Regions from separate parts of the Homo sapiens genome. Here region 1 is linked to region 2. The links are contacts of gene promoters, found by promoter capture Hi-C in blood cells and fetal thymus (Javierre and others, 2016). All regions are on one chromosome and are shown on one strand. The core of a region is centred on a gene start or on the middle of the fragment in contact, and the rest is flanking DNA. Distances in the headings are between cores, read along the strand shown. Region 1 overlaps KPNB1-DT (KPNB1 divergent transcript). Region 2 holds the start of MYL4 (myosin light chain 4).

Region 1 (6,326 bases), core at 682-3,181, 420 kb after region 2:
CACTGGGGAGGAATTGGCAGAGAATGAACATAGTTTACTGTCATGATCTGTGCTTTCTCAGGGAGGTTGTAGCAGCTAACAGCAGATATACTATACATCAATTAAGATGACTACCAGGAAGAAAAAAATAATCCTTGCCGTGGTTTGGCTGACAGTACCAATATGGTCCTCTGAGACATCCCCTACCCCTACTCTAACCACCTTTAACCTTCATCACCAATTTGACAAATTTTACAGGTGTATTACGTTACACTGCAATTCTGGGCAACTCTTAATAGGGCACTGATTACCTTGCATTATTTGTACTCATCTGGACATTCTCTTCCTTAATGTTTATTAGCCTGTACTTTTAAAGTTAAGCAGGGGGCCAGGCACCGTGGCTCACGCCTGTAATCCCAGCACTTTGGGAGGCTGAGGCAGGCGGATCACTTGAGCCCAGGAGTTTGAGACCAGCCTGGACAACATAGTGAAACCCCATCTCTACAAAAAATACAAACATTAGCTGGGTGTGGTGGTATGCTCCCGTAGTCCCAGCTACCTGGGAGGCTGAGGCAGGAGAATCGCTTGAGCCCAGCAGGAGGTTGCAGTGAGCCGAGATCATGCCACTGCACTCCAGCCTGGGTGACAAGGCAAGACCCTATCTCAAAAAAATAAAAAATAGTTAAGGAGGTGCAGGCATGGTAGCTCACACCTGTAATCCCGGCACTTTGGGAGGCCAAGGTGGGAGGATCACTTGAGCTCAGGAGATTGAGACCAGCCTTGGCCACATGGTAAAACTCCATCTCTACTAAAAGAAAAAAAATTAGCTGGGCATGTTGGCATGTGCCTGTAGTCCCAGCTACTCAGGAGGCTTAGGCTGCACTGACCTATGGTCACACCACTGCACTCCAGGCTGGGTGACAGTGAGACCCTGTCTCAATAATAGGGCCGGGGGGGTGGCTCATGCCTGTAATCCCAGCACTTTGGAAAGCCGAGGTGGGTGGATTGCTTGAGCTCAGGAGTTCAAGACCAGCCTGGGCAACATAACGAAACCCCGTCTCGTTATACAAAATACAAAAAAATTAGCCAGGCATAGTGGTATATGCCTGTGGTCCCAGCTACTCAGGAGGCTGAGGTGGGAAGAGGATCGCTGGAGCCCAGGAAGTTGAGGCTACAGTGAGTCAGGATGGCACCACTGCACTCCATCCTGGGTGAGAGCAAAACCCTGTCTCAAACAAACAAAAATAATAGTAATAAAAATAAGGAGAAGAAAAAATCAGTATGTGGAGTGGCTATTAGGTTAGTGGGAGAAGTCTCAAGAACACCATACAAAATAATAGAAGGGAGATGGAAGGAAACAACTTACAAGAAAATGTACAAAGCACTTAAAATATTTGAGATGAATGAGAATGGATGAGATTGCTGTTGCTTTTCTAACAGGTCAATTTCCTCTTCTATCAGCAGAGCACTTGTAAGTCAGAATGTAAAGGGATGTGATAGGATGAAGTTAATACTGTGCCCTCTACAAGTGTAAAGAAGTTCTTTGTTTTCTTCTTTTTTGTCTTGAGATGATCTCTTTGTCACCCAGGCTGGAGTGCAGTGGTGCGATCCTGGCTCACTGCGCAGTGGTGCGATCCTGGCTCACTGCAGCCTTGAACTTCTGGGCTTAAGGGATCCTCCCACCTCAGCCTCCTGAGTAGCTGGGACTAGAGGTGTGTGCCACCACACCCACTAATTTAATTTGTTAATTTTGTGGAGGTGGGGTTTCACCATGTTGCCCAGGCTTGTCTCGAACTCCTAGGCTCACGTGATCCCAAGTTACTGGGATTACAGGCATGAGCCATCTTGCCCCGCCTTAGTTCATTTTTTTTTTTTTTGAGATGGAGTCTTGCTCTGTTGCCCAGGCTGGAGTGCAATGGCGTGATCTTGGCTCACTGCAACCTCCGCCTCCCAGGGTCAAGCGATTCTCCCACCTTCAGCCACCCAAGTAGCTGGGCTTACAGGCATGCACCACCTGTCTGGCTAATTTTTGTATTTTTAGTAGACATGAGGTTTCGCCATGCTGGCCAGGCTGGTCTTGAACTCCTGACCGCCCACCTGGGCCTCCCAAAGTGCTGGGATTACAGGCGTGAGCCACTGCGCCTGGCCTCTTAGTTCATTCTTATAACAGTAACAGAGTAGACAGACTATTGGATAAACAACGAAATAGTACATGACTTAGATCTCTTGGCTACCAAACCTGGCCTTCTCTTAATTTCTTACTCTCAGCAAATGGAAGACCTATGTGACCAATACAGTAGCTACTAGCCATTCACAGCTATTTAAATTAATTAGAATTAAATAAAAAGTTGCTTGGGGCTGGCTCATGCCTGTAATCCCAGCACTTTGGGAGGCCAAGGCAGGTGGATCACTTGAGTTCAAGACCAGCCTGGACAACATGGTGAAACCCCGTCTCTACTAAAAATACAAAAATTAACCAGGCGCATGCCTGTAATCCCAACTACTAAGGAGGCTGAGGCAGATGAATTGCTTGAGCCCAGGAGGCGGAGATTGCACTCCATGCCACTGCACTCCAGCCTGGGTAACAGGGCAAGACTCTGTCTCAAGAAAAAAGTTGCCTGGTTGCACTAGCCACAAATCAACTGCGCAGCAGCCACATAAGGCTAGTGGCTACTGTATTGAACAGCACAGATATAAATCATATTCATCACTCAGGAAAGTTCTATTGGACCACCCTGAGCTACACCTCATATATCCAAGTGTATTTTTTTGTGTATCACTGAAAGTAATAGCTTGGGCAACATGGTGAGACTCTGTCTCTACAAAAGATTGAAAAAATTAACTGAGTGTGGTAGCACACACCTGTAGCCCCAACTGCTTAGAAGACTGAGGTTGGGAGATCACTTGAGTCCAGGAGGTGGAGGCGGCAGTGAGCCATGTTCGTGCCACTGCACTATAGAGCCTGGGCAACAAAATGAGACCCTGTCTCCAAAAAACAAAGTTACATTTTTACTAATCTTGTAACAAATTGCTGATCACCTAAGAACATTTTATCACTAACCCCTATTCATTTAAAATTTTATTTTTCATGAATGTAATACATGTCGTATTCATTTTCCAAAAATTGAAGGAAAAAAAAGTGACTCTCTTCTTACAAACTCCTCTACGTTTTTATACTCTATGCATTTTGAATATTTTTAGTAATGAAGATAGGCTGTGCCTCCTTCACTTGTCTGACCACGTAACCAGTGCCACGTGTTTTCAGTCTTTGCTGTATGAAACTAAATGTGCCATGCTCAGAGCTGCCACCCGTGTCCTAAGTCACGAAGCTAATCACCAAAGACTACTTGTGAACAAAGTAACAGCTGGCAAATGCATACCTTGAGAAGTGTTTCTTCCTTGTTTAGAGTCACTGGTTCATGAATGTTTTCCAGCCTGACTTCCTGATGTTAAATGCCAGTTTTGTGGACTGCACACATTTGAAGAACGTGACTTTAAGTTCCTGGTTCAATTAGTTTAAGTGGCTCATGTAATGAATTCACTCAATGTACTTCCCTCACTGGAGATGTGAACTGCACTATATTTGGAACTAACACTTGCAATCCTATACACTGTTGCCTGGGTGTTGAGCTACAAATTTTGGTTAATATCACCATTAACTAGATTCAGGAAGTTATATGATGATGAATTTCACAAAGATTTTGGTGAAGAGAGATGTGACTGGTTTGAAAAAAAGGGGGGTGAGGGTATTCTTCTCATAGGTTCCCAATGTGCAGGGACTTCAGCTTGCTGACACTGTTGAATGAGGCCATGCGTTCCTCCCACTGGGGCTTGCTTACCTGCTGACACCTGCCACGCCAGCCTGAGCAACTGTGTTGCCCTGACTCCTAGGCTTACCCCTGTTAACTTGGTGACTACACCTCACTGCTTCCAACAAATAAAACAAATGTGCCATCCATCCAGAAATGCCCCAAGTGTGCACTAAACCCAGGAAAGACCTGAGATAGGAATAATCTAGGTAGCTTTAAATGTTCCTGTTCTCTAGGATCCAAACTTAGCCATCCCCACTAAGATGCTGGGCAAACGTTCTCATTGGTACATAAGCATCACAGAAGGCTGGTGAGAAGGGGACCAGCCTTTTCTAGTCATTATCAAATAATACAGCAGCACTGTGCTCCAGCCTCACAGGCTGCTATCTGATGGGACGGGTGTGCATTTTGGCCACTGATCAAAAGACCTTGGTTATCACAAGAACCTTATCAGAAAAGCCCCACAGCATTAAACCTGAGTGCAGTATTCAAGGCAAGGTTCTGATGGATTTGTTCAATGGCTATGGGATTCAGATGGCAGACACTACATAGTTGCAAAAGCTTTTACTGCAGAAGGAAATGCCTATTATACTAGATATTGAGGCTACAGTATCAAATAAGGTAGACTTGGTCTCTGCCCTAATGGAGCTTACAATCTAGCAGCGACAAGAGATATCGAATGAGTAATTTTAAGTGTGCCAACTCTGGAGTGGGAAGTTTAGTGTGCTATACCAGACAGTTCAAAGTAGCCTGAAGGTTCAGGAAAGTCTCCCTGGAGAAATGTTAAACTGAAACATGAAAGATGAGTAGTTGCCAGGCAAAGAGGAGAGAAAAAGTGTTATTAGCAGAAGAAACAGCATGTGCAACGGGCCTGTAGTTAGAAGGAAGCAGACCTATTTAAGAAAGCAAAAGAGGGCTGGGCGCGGTGGCTCACGCCTGTAATCCCAGCACTTTGGGAGGCCGAGTCAGGCAGATCACCTGAGGTCAGGAGTTCGAGACCAGCCTGGCCAACATGGTGAACCCCCGTCTTTACTAAAAATACAAAAAAATTAGACAGGCATGGTGGCGGGCGCCTGTAATCCCAGCTACTCGGGAGGCTGAGGCAGGAGAATCCCTTGTACCTGGGAGATGGAGGTTGCAGTGAGCCGAGGCAGTGCTATTGCACTCCAGCCTGGACAACAAGAGCAAAACTCTGTCTCAAAAAAAAAAGCAAAAGAAATCCAAGATGGGCTGGGTGCAGTAGCTCATACCTGTGATCCCAGCGCTTTGTGAGGCTGAGGTGGGAGGATCGCTTAAGCTCAGGAGTTCAAGACCAACCTAGGTAACATAGTGAGACCCAGTATCTACTTAAAAAAAAAAATTAGCTAGGCGTGGTGGCATGCGCCCATAGTCCCAACTACTTGGGAGACTGAGGTGGGAGGATCGCATGAGCCCAGGAAGTTCAGGTACATGAGATGTGGTCCAGCCACTGCACTCCTCCCTGGGTGACTGAGCAAGACCCTGTCTCAAAAAAAAAAAAAAGAGGATACTCGGCCGAGCACAGTGACTCATACCTGTAATCCCAGCACTTTGGGAGGCCGAGGCGAGCAGATCACCAGGTCAACAGATCGAGACCATCCTAGCCAACATGGTGAAACCCTGTCTCTACTAAAAATATAAAAATTAGCTCAGCATGGTGGTGCACGCCTGTAGTCCCAGCTACTTGGGAGGCTGAGACAGGAGAATTGCTTGAACCCAGGAGGCAGAGGTTGCAGTGAGCTGAGATCGCAGCACTGCACTCCAGCCTGGCGACAGAGTGAGACTCCATTTAAAAAAATAAAATAAAATAAGTCTTATTAGCAGAAGAAACAGCATGGTGCAGTGGCTCACGCCTGTAATCTCAGCACTTTAGGAAGCCAAGGCAGACAGATCACCCAAGGTCAGGAGTTTTGAGACTAGCCTGGCCAAAATGGCAAAACCCCGTCTCTACTAAAAATACAAAAAAATTAGCCAGGCGTGGTGGTGCACATCTGTAATTCCAGCTACTTGAGAGGCTGAAGCACAAGAATCGCTTGAATCCGGGAGGTGGAGGTTGCAGTGAGCCAAGATAGTACAAGAGCGAGACTCTGTCTCAAAAAAAAAAAAAAAAAAAAAAAAAAAAGATACTGGGGAAAAAAAAAGAAACCCAGGAGAACAGAAAGCTCTTGGGAAAGTGGTACAAGAGGGGTCTGGAGAAACAGACTAGAGCCAGGCTGGCAAGAACTTGGGCCTTGTTAAAGATTCAGAACTCGGCCAGGCATGGTGGCTCACATCTGTAATCCCAGCACTTAGGGAGGCAACGGTGGAAGGATCACTTGAGCCCAGGAGTTCAGGACCAGCCTAGGAAACATAGTGTGACTCAATTCTCCAAAAAAAGTAAAAATATTCAGGACTCTAACTAAGGAACAATGGGAGAACATCACATTCCTCACCTGTAAAGTGGGAATAATAACAACAGTTATCTCATAGTTATCAGGGAGCAAAATGAGAATAATACAAATAAAAGGTCTTTTTAAGTTA
Region 2 (6,726 bases), core at 1,504-4,003:
GATGGTGGTGGAAGGAGCTCCAAGGTCTGGCCTTTCTATGTACCCTGCAGCCAGAAGCATGTCACCCTATAAAGCAAGATAGCAAGATTGCTAGTCTCAGGATTCTGTTGAACATGGTTTGAAAGTCTCCTGATTGTTTTTCCTTTTAAAATAAGCAAGCTGAGGCCCAGAGAGAGGAAGTGGCTGGCAGAGTCAGGACTAGTGCCTGGGTCTCCCAGCTTCTATCCTGCAGCTCTTTACAGAAATCCCAGTTTGTATATTTTTGCACAAACTCCGCAGGATGCAGTCCAGGAAGGGATGCAGGTGGAGGTGGAGAAGGAGGAGGGCCTGGGCTTCCACTTTTTCTCTTTCCTCGTCACCAACAACCTGAACTCCCAACCCCTGTGGGGAATGGGGTAGGTCAAGGAGAGGACTGACAGGGATTATAGAAGAGTGCGAGCGAAGGTACAAGGAATCAAGTTTGGTAGCCGGCAAGGAAGAGAGGTGAGGCAGAAGATGAGGGGAGGAGGTGAGGTGCACAGAGCAAAGGAGCCACCATCCCAGCTCAGGACCAGGGCTGGGCTAGAATCTGGGCCCTGGTCTCGTTCTAGTATTCCCTTGAGCAAGTCCTGGCCCTTTTTCCTGCCCGTTTCCTTTGAGGGCTTCTCTGTCACCACCAGTGAGCGTGTATAGGCTACAGGAGGAGCAGTGAAGAGCAGTGTGCTACAGAGAGCACTGCACCCCAGGAAACAGAATTAGTTGGCCCAGCTCTGCCTATAAGTAGCTGAATGTCTTGAGGCAACTTCAACGTTTCCCTGGACCTTAGATTCCTTGCCTGTAAAACAGCATGGGGCCAGATGATCTCTAAGGGTCCTTCTGGCTCTGAAGGCAATGATCTGGGGCATGGAACCTGTAGTTAGAGAGCTGGGAAATGGGCAGATGTGGGCTCCAGGGCACCCAGAATTGCAGGCTTAGGAGCTAACAGCAACCAGGATTCTGTAGTCTAGCAATCTTGCTTTACAGGTGAGGAAACTGGGCCTAGAAAGGCGAAGTGATTTTTTTGCCTCTCTCAGCTTTATTCCTCTTTTCCTCTGAACTGTAGAGTCTAAAGATTCAGCACAAAGCAGTTTTGTGTAGTGGATACATAAGCTTTTTTGTTGTTATTTTTCTGAATTATTTTGTTGACTTTCAAAGTTTTTTTTACATAAACAGTAAATGCTCGTTATAAAAATTTCCATTAATACAGGAAGTGAAAAAAGTAAAAAACTGCAAATTGCTGTTATCCTCCCACCCTTACCCCCTAGGTCCCCAGAGGTGTCTCTGTTAACAGTTCAGCGTGTATCCATCCTGACTCCTCCAATAAATGCAGAAACTTGTATGTCTCTCCCCGACAACTGGATTATCATATACATTATTCAAGCATAGGCTTTAGACTCAGACATATCTACATCTAATCCCAGCTTATAGCTAATTATTTGAGTGACCTTGGCCAAGTTGTTCATCCAGTTTTAGTCTCAATCTCCCCATGTGTAAAGTGAAAATAATAATAGTATCTACCTGGCCTGGCGTGGCGGCTTATGCCTATAATCCCAGCCCTTTGGAAGACCGAGGCTAGTGGATCCCTTGAGCTCAGGAGTTCAAGACCAACCTGGGCAATTTAGCAAGACCTCATCTCTACTGAAAAACAAAAAACAAAAAAACTCCCCCAAAATTAGCCAAGTGTGCTGGTGTGCACCTGTAGTCCCAGCTACTCGGAAGGCTGAGGTGGGAGAATCGCTTGAGCCAGGAAAGACGAGGCTGCAGTGAGCTGTGATTGCACCACTGCACTGCAACCTGAGCAACAGAGCGATACCTTGTTTCTGTTAAAACAAACAAACAAACAAAATAGTATCTACCTTATAGGATCATGGTGAAGATTTAATGAGATTTTATATGAATAGCACTTAACAGTTCCTGGTACTGATAGTAGTAAGCACTACACACACACACACACACACACACACACACACACACACAGAGCACAGAATGAGTTAGAGGTAAAGTGAAAACTAAACCCCAAGTTTTCTGACCCTCAGTCTCCTCGACTTTCTACCACATCTCTCTGCTTCTCTCCTAGGTGCCTAGGCATGGGTTCAGTGCTCACTACTTGTTGAATGAATGACTGAGGTTGTGTGTAAGGGGGTAGATCTAGGGATCTGAGGTCTGTGGAGTTCCTGGGATGCCTGCTCTGGAAAATGGAGGCTTTCATCCTGTGAGTTGGGAGGGTGTGGGGCAGTGTGGGTTGGCTGGACCAGCTGTTGCTTCAGAGCTCCATGCCTGGAGAGTTGGGCCTCTAGGCAGAGCTGAGGGCCCAGAGTGGCTCTCAGCTTAAAGGATCTTGGCTTAGAAGGAATGTGCAGTGGGCTGCCTCTGCTCGGGAGGGGCTAAAAAAAGCCTCACCCTCCCCTGGGCTTTGTGTGAGGCTTATCAACTGCTCAAGTCAGCTCATCTCTCTGGCTGCTCCGGCATATTTGAGAAGGTCTGTTTCCCTGGTCCTTCTGGGTTTCCACCAATTGGCAAGAAGGGATCAGCCTGTCCTAGAGGTGAAGAGAGAGCTGTGGCATGAAGGGGAGGGGGCTGGTGGCCCCAAACCTGGTGACAATACACAGTTGTCAGCTGTACCCTGCTGGCGTTTCTTCCTTTTATAGTCAGCAGCAGTTGCTCTTGCTTTCACCCAGCCCCTCTGTGGGGGCTCCTGCCCAGGATAAAAGGGAAGGGAGGCAGCCCAGGCTCCTATCTCATCTCCCAGACGCCACGTCTCTCGGTTTCTTCTTAGATCACTCCTCTGCCAAAGATCCCAACAAGACAACATGGCTCCCAAGAAGCCTGAGCCTAAGAAGGAGGCAGCCAAGCCAGCTCCAGCTCCAGCTCCAGCCCCTGCACCAGCCCCTGCCCCAGCTCCTGAGGCTCCCAAGGAACCTGCCTTTGACCCCAAGAGTGTAAAGGTAAGTGAGGCTCAGCCATTGGGATAGAGGTGGGGATGACATTGAGAGTCCTTTTGCTCTGGAGCTTAGCGATCTACTTTATGTGGGCTGGACTGGGATGAGGACTAGGGTGTCCATGCCCCAGATCGCAGTCCCATGGGGCAGTGGAGTGGGTGTTGGGGCTGATGAGGGGGAGATTGAGTCATAAACCTTTTCCGTCAAGAATGAGGTGCTGCTTTGAGGGAGCCCTGTCCTGCTACCCTAGATTTGTGCAGCTAAGTTGGGAATGGGGGGAGGTACAACCAACCATCCATCCACCCTTTTATAAGGCATTATGAGGACCACCATAGCAAAGTAAAACAGACTAGCCTTTTCCTAGGAGGTAGTGGGATATCTTTATGGAGAACAGACAGATCATGGCAGCTGCCAGTGTAACTTGGAGTAAGTGATATAAACAGTCAGGGAATATCCTCCCTGTGCATGGCAGTTTGGGAAAGGCTTCACTCACAAACACTCTTACGGCAGGTGAGGGCAGGGTGGGAAGGAGGTTGTGGTTAAGGTAAGAGGAGCCCGGATTCCTCTCTCTCTTTCCTTACCCAGACGGGCCTTTCCTTCTGTGGCCTTAGCCTGGGTTCCTATCTGTAGCATGCAGAGGACTGGCCCACCCTGGGCTGAGACCCTCTCTCCAACCGGGTCAGGAAGCTGGGCCTGGTTCCTTTGCCCCACCCTGCTCTCCTCACACAAAACATTCCTCTCCCTGGAGCTGGTGTGGGCCCTGCATGCTGACTCAGTCATTTTAGACCTCCCAGCTCTCTGGCCCAGCTGCTGAAGGAATGGAACTGGTGGGAGAGGGGTGGGCTGAAGAGGGAGGGGGCCAGAGACCTCTGAAGAGGAGCAGTTTTAAGCCTTGGCACCAGAGTGGAAAAGGTCAAGTGGCTACTGGTATGAAGAGCTATTAATAACAGGTTGGGAGTGCTGAGCCCCCAGGGATCTCAGCCTTAGGACAGGGCTGGGGGTGGTGAGGGATCAGGTCAAAATAAGAGCACAGGACAAGGTTCTGTGACAAGCAGGCAGGGAAATTAAAACCCAGAGCTCTAATTGTATGACCTCCCTGCCCTCTGAGAATTCCTCTCATACCCACAGCCGGGATAACCCTACAAGTATTATGCCAAAGACCCAGTCCCCGCAAGGGACAGGAACTGCTTAGCCAAGAGATGGAGGCAATTGTCCCTTTTCTGAGCTTGGTTATGGCTCACTCTGGGGAAACTGAGGCTACTGTAGGACCCTGAAAACACCTGCAGGTTTTCTAGGTCATACATCACTCCATTTACAAGCTGAGCCTGGCAGGAAAAGCTGACTATTTCACCCTTCAGGATCCCTCCTCGCCTTTATTTCTGATTTGTTCCCATAAAGCACTGTGCCTTTGGGTGGGTTGCCAGGCCTTGTCCCTGGTGTCTGGGCAACAGCTGCCTAGTGGCATCAAACTGGTGTCCTTCCCTTGGCCTGTCACTTCTTTCATTCACTCTCCTCTCTCAATTTCTCACCCGTGAGAAATTGCACCCCTGGTTGCAATCCTCTTTTCCATATCTGCATCTTCATGGGGGTTGTTGAAGTTGCTTTGAAGTAGAAAAAAAATAGGTATCTTTTATGAGAGACATTTTCCCTATTATTGTGTTATACTTACCCAGTTCCTTTGATTAGAAGGTTCTTTACTCCAAGACAGAAGAGAAGCCAGATGAGGTGATTCATGTTTATAATCCCAGCCCTTTGGGAGGCTGAGGCGGGAGGGTAATTTGAGGCCAGGCATTTGAGTCCAGCCTGGGCAACATGGCAAGATCCTTGTCTCTACAAATAAATAAATAAATTATAAAAAAGATTCGAAGATAGAACAGAAGCAAACTTAAGCCCAGTGTGTGTAGTTAGGACCACGTCTATTGAGATTTTAAGTTTTTACATTAATTGCTCTTACATGTTTATTCCTGGTTCTTAAAGCATTGTAAAGTAAGGCAAACTGTGCCTTTTCCTCAGAGAGTGAATGCAGAGCATCCTTCACCCCATCTAGGGGGTTCCTTTAACTTTCTGACCACCCCCTACTTTTGGCAGTCTATTCCTAGCCACAACTAGTTTTCTTTCCAACCCAGTTAACTCCCCACTGCCCCAACCTATCCCCAGCTCATGGCTGCCATATCTGGGTCCTCATGAATGGAGGTCAGTTCTCGGAGATGAGACAGGATGGGCACAGCACAAGCAGCAGCAGAATTAGGACTAGGAATGACGGCACTTGAAGAAGAGGCTCCAGGATTGGAACCACCACCAGTGGAGAGGGGATGGGATGGGATGGGGTGGGGTGGGGTGCATAAGGACCACGAGGTAACATACAAGATCTTAAATCAAAATGATGACTTGGGCTGGGTGTGGTGGCTCACGCCTGTAATCTCAGCACTTTGGGAGGTCGAGGCAGGTGGATCACCTGAGGTCAGGAGTTCGAGGCCAGCCTAGCCAACATGGTGAAACCCTGTCTCTACTAAAAATACAAAAATTAGCTGGGCGTTATGGCGGGTGCCTGTAATCTCAGCTACTGAGGCAGAAGAATCGCTTGAACTTGGGAGGCGAAGGTCGCAGTGAGCCAAGATCACACCATTGCACTCCAGCCTGGGTGACAAGTGCGAAACTCCATCTCAAAAAATAAGAATAAAAAATAAAATAAAATGATGACTTATGCTTGGCCATTGTCATTCACTCTCCTCTTCTGTACTCAGCATTAAATTACTATGCATTATATGGGGGAAATCTAAAATGTATTACTTCATTCAACAAATGTTTTTCAGTGCCTACTATGTACTGAGCATTTCAGTGAACAATAACAAGAATCCTTGCCTGAGGGAGCAGTGGCTTCAAGGAGACAGAGTGCACGTAAAGGCATGACTGGAAACAATTAGGAAGCGTGGAGGGCCCATGCCAATTGCTCTTGCTGTCCCAGAGTGCCTAAGAGTGTGTCAGAAGACAAAATTAGAAGGCATTTTAGTTTAAAGATCTGAATTGGCTTTTATGTTTGAGTCTAGAATCTGGCAACAATGAGCCGAGCAGAGGAGGTGGTATTATAGACAAAGAAAGGCTGAGGTAAGCAGAAATGAGAGCAAAATGCAAATTGTTCATTGCAAAGTTACTTTTCTTGTAAAGGTTAAAGCAGATGGCACTTTCTTATCAAGCTGGCTGAAACTGTCATGTTTGGGGATTTGGCTATTATCTCTTATTTTCCTGATTTCTTGGAAAATCAGATGAACAACTTAGTTTCAGCTTGGTGACATGGAACTTCAGCATGAGTGAATCTATTTTGGTTTGGTCTGTTGGTCCTAGTGTAGGAGCTCAGTACAAACCAACGGCCTCTTATAAATTGTACTTAACGAGGGATATGTGCTGAAGGAGGGGTTGGAGTGGGATGCGGTGTGGGAAGCCTTCATTGAAGGGAGTGGATTTAAAATCAGAATCAAATAGAAAGAGCAGTCCGAGTGTGGGGAGTGGTGGTGCCCAAAGAGGGCAGAAGTGCAGCTTGTCAGAGGACTATGGACTAGGAAGAGATTGAAGGGGCAACAGTGAGGGCAGTTTGTGGGTGGCTAGGATGAAGAATTTACCTCAGACCCGGAGGCATTACAATAGGCAGTCCGTGTACGTTCTAGAATTATCCAGGGAATTTTTCTTTCCCTTTCGCTCTTACCTGGAGCCATCACTTAATAAGCGGTATTGAGAGAGCTTTGGAGTCTGCATTACAGTTGTCCCTCGTTAT

What was found. Contacts are between HindIII fragments. The CHiCAGO score rates a contact against its expected background, and 5 or more counts as called.
Region 1: a fragment that was not itself captured here is called in contact with the fragment with the promoter of MYL4 in region 2 in 1 of 17 cell types (erythroblasts); the score reaches 5.2 in erythroblasts.

The regions. Positions count from the first base shown.
Region 1 is chr17:47,626,626-47,632,951 of GRCh38, forward strand. KPNB1-DT (KPNB1 divergent transcript) reads right to left here. Exons shown (of 4, transcript NR_171700.1): 3 at 1-2. Among named protein-coding and RNA genes, the nearest start is that of KPNB1-DT, 20 kb to the right of the region's middle. The HindIII fragment of the contact is 4,831 bases long and covers 1-4,347 here.
Region 2 is chr17:47,206,595-47,213,320 of GRCh38, forward strand. MYL4 (myosin light chain 4) reads left to right here and starts at 2,754. Exons shown (of 7, transcript NM_002476.2): 1 at 2,754-2,963. The coding sequence starts at 2,829. The HindIII fragment of the contact is 17,980 bases long and covers 1,127-6,726 here.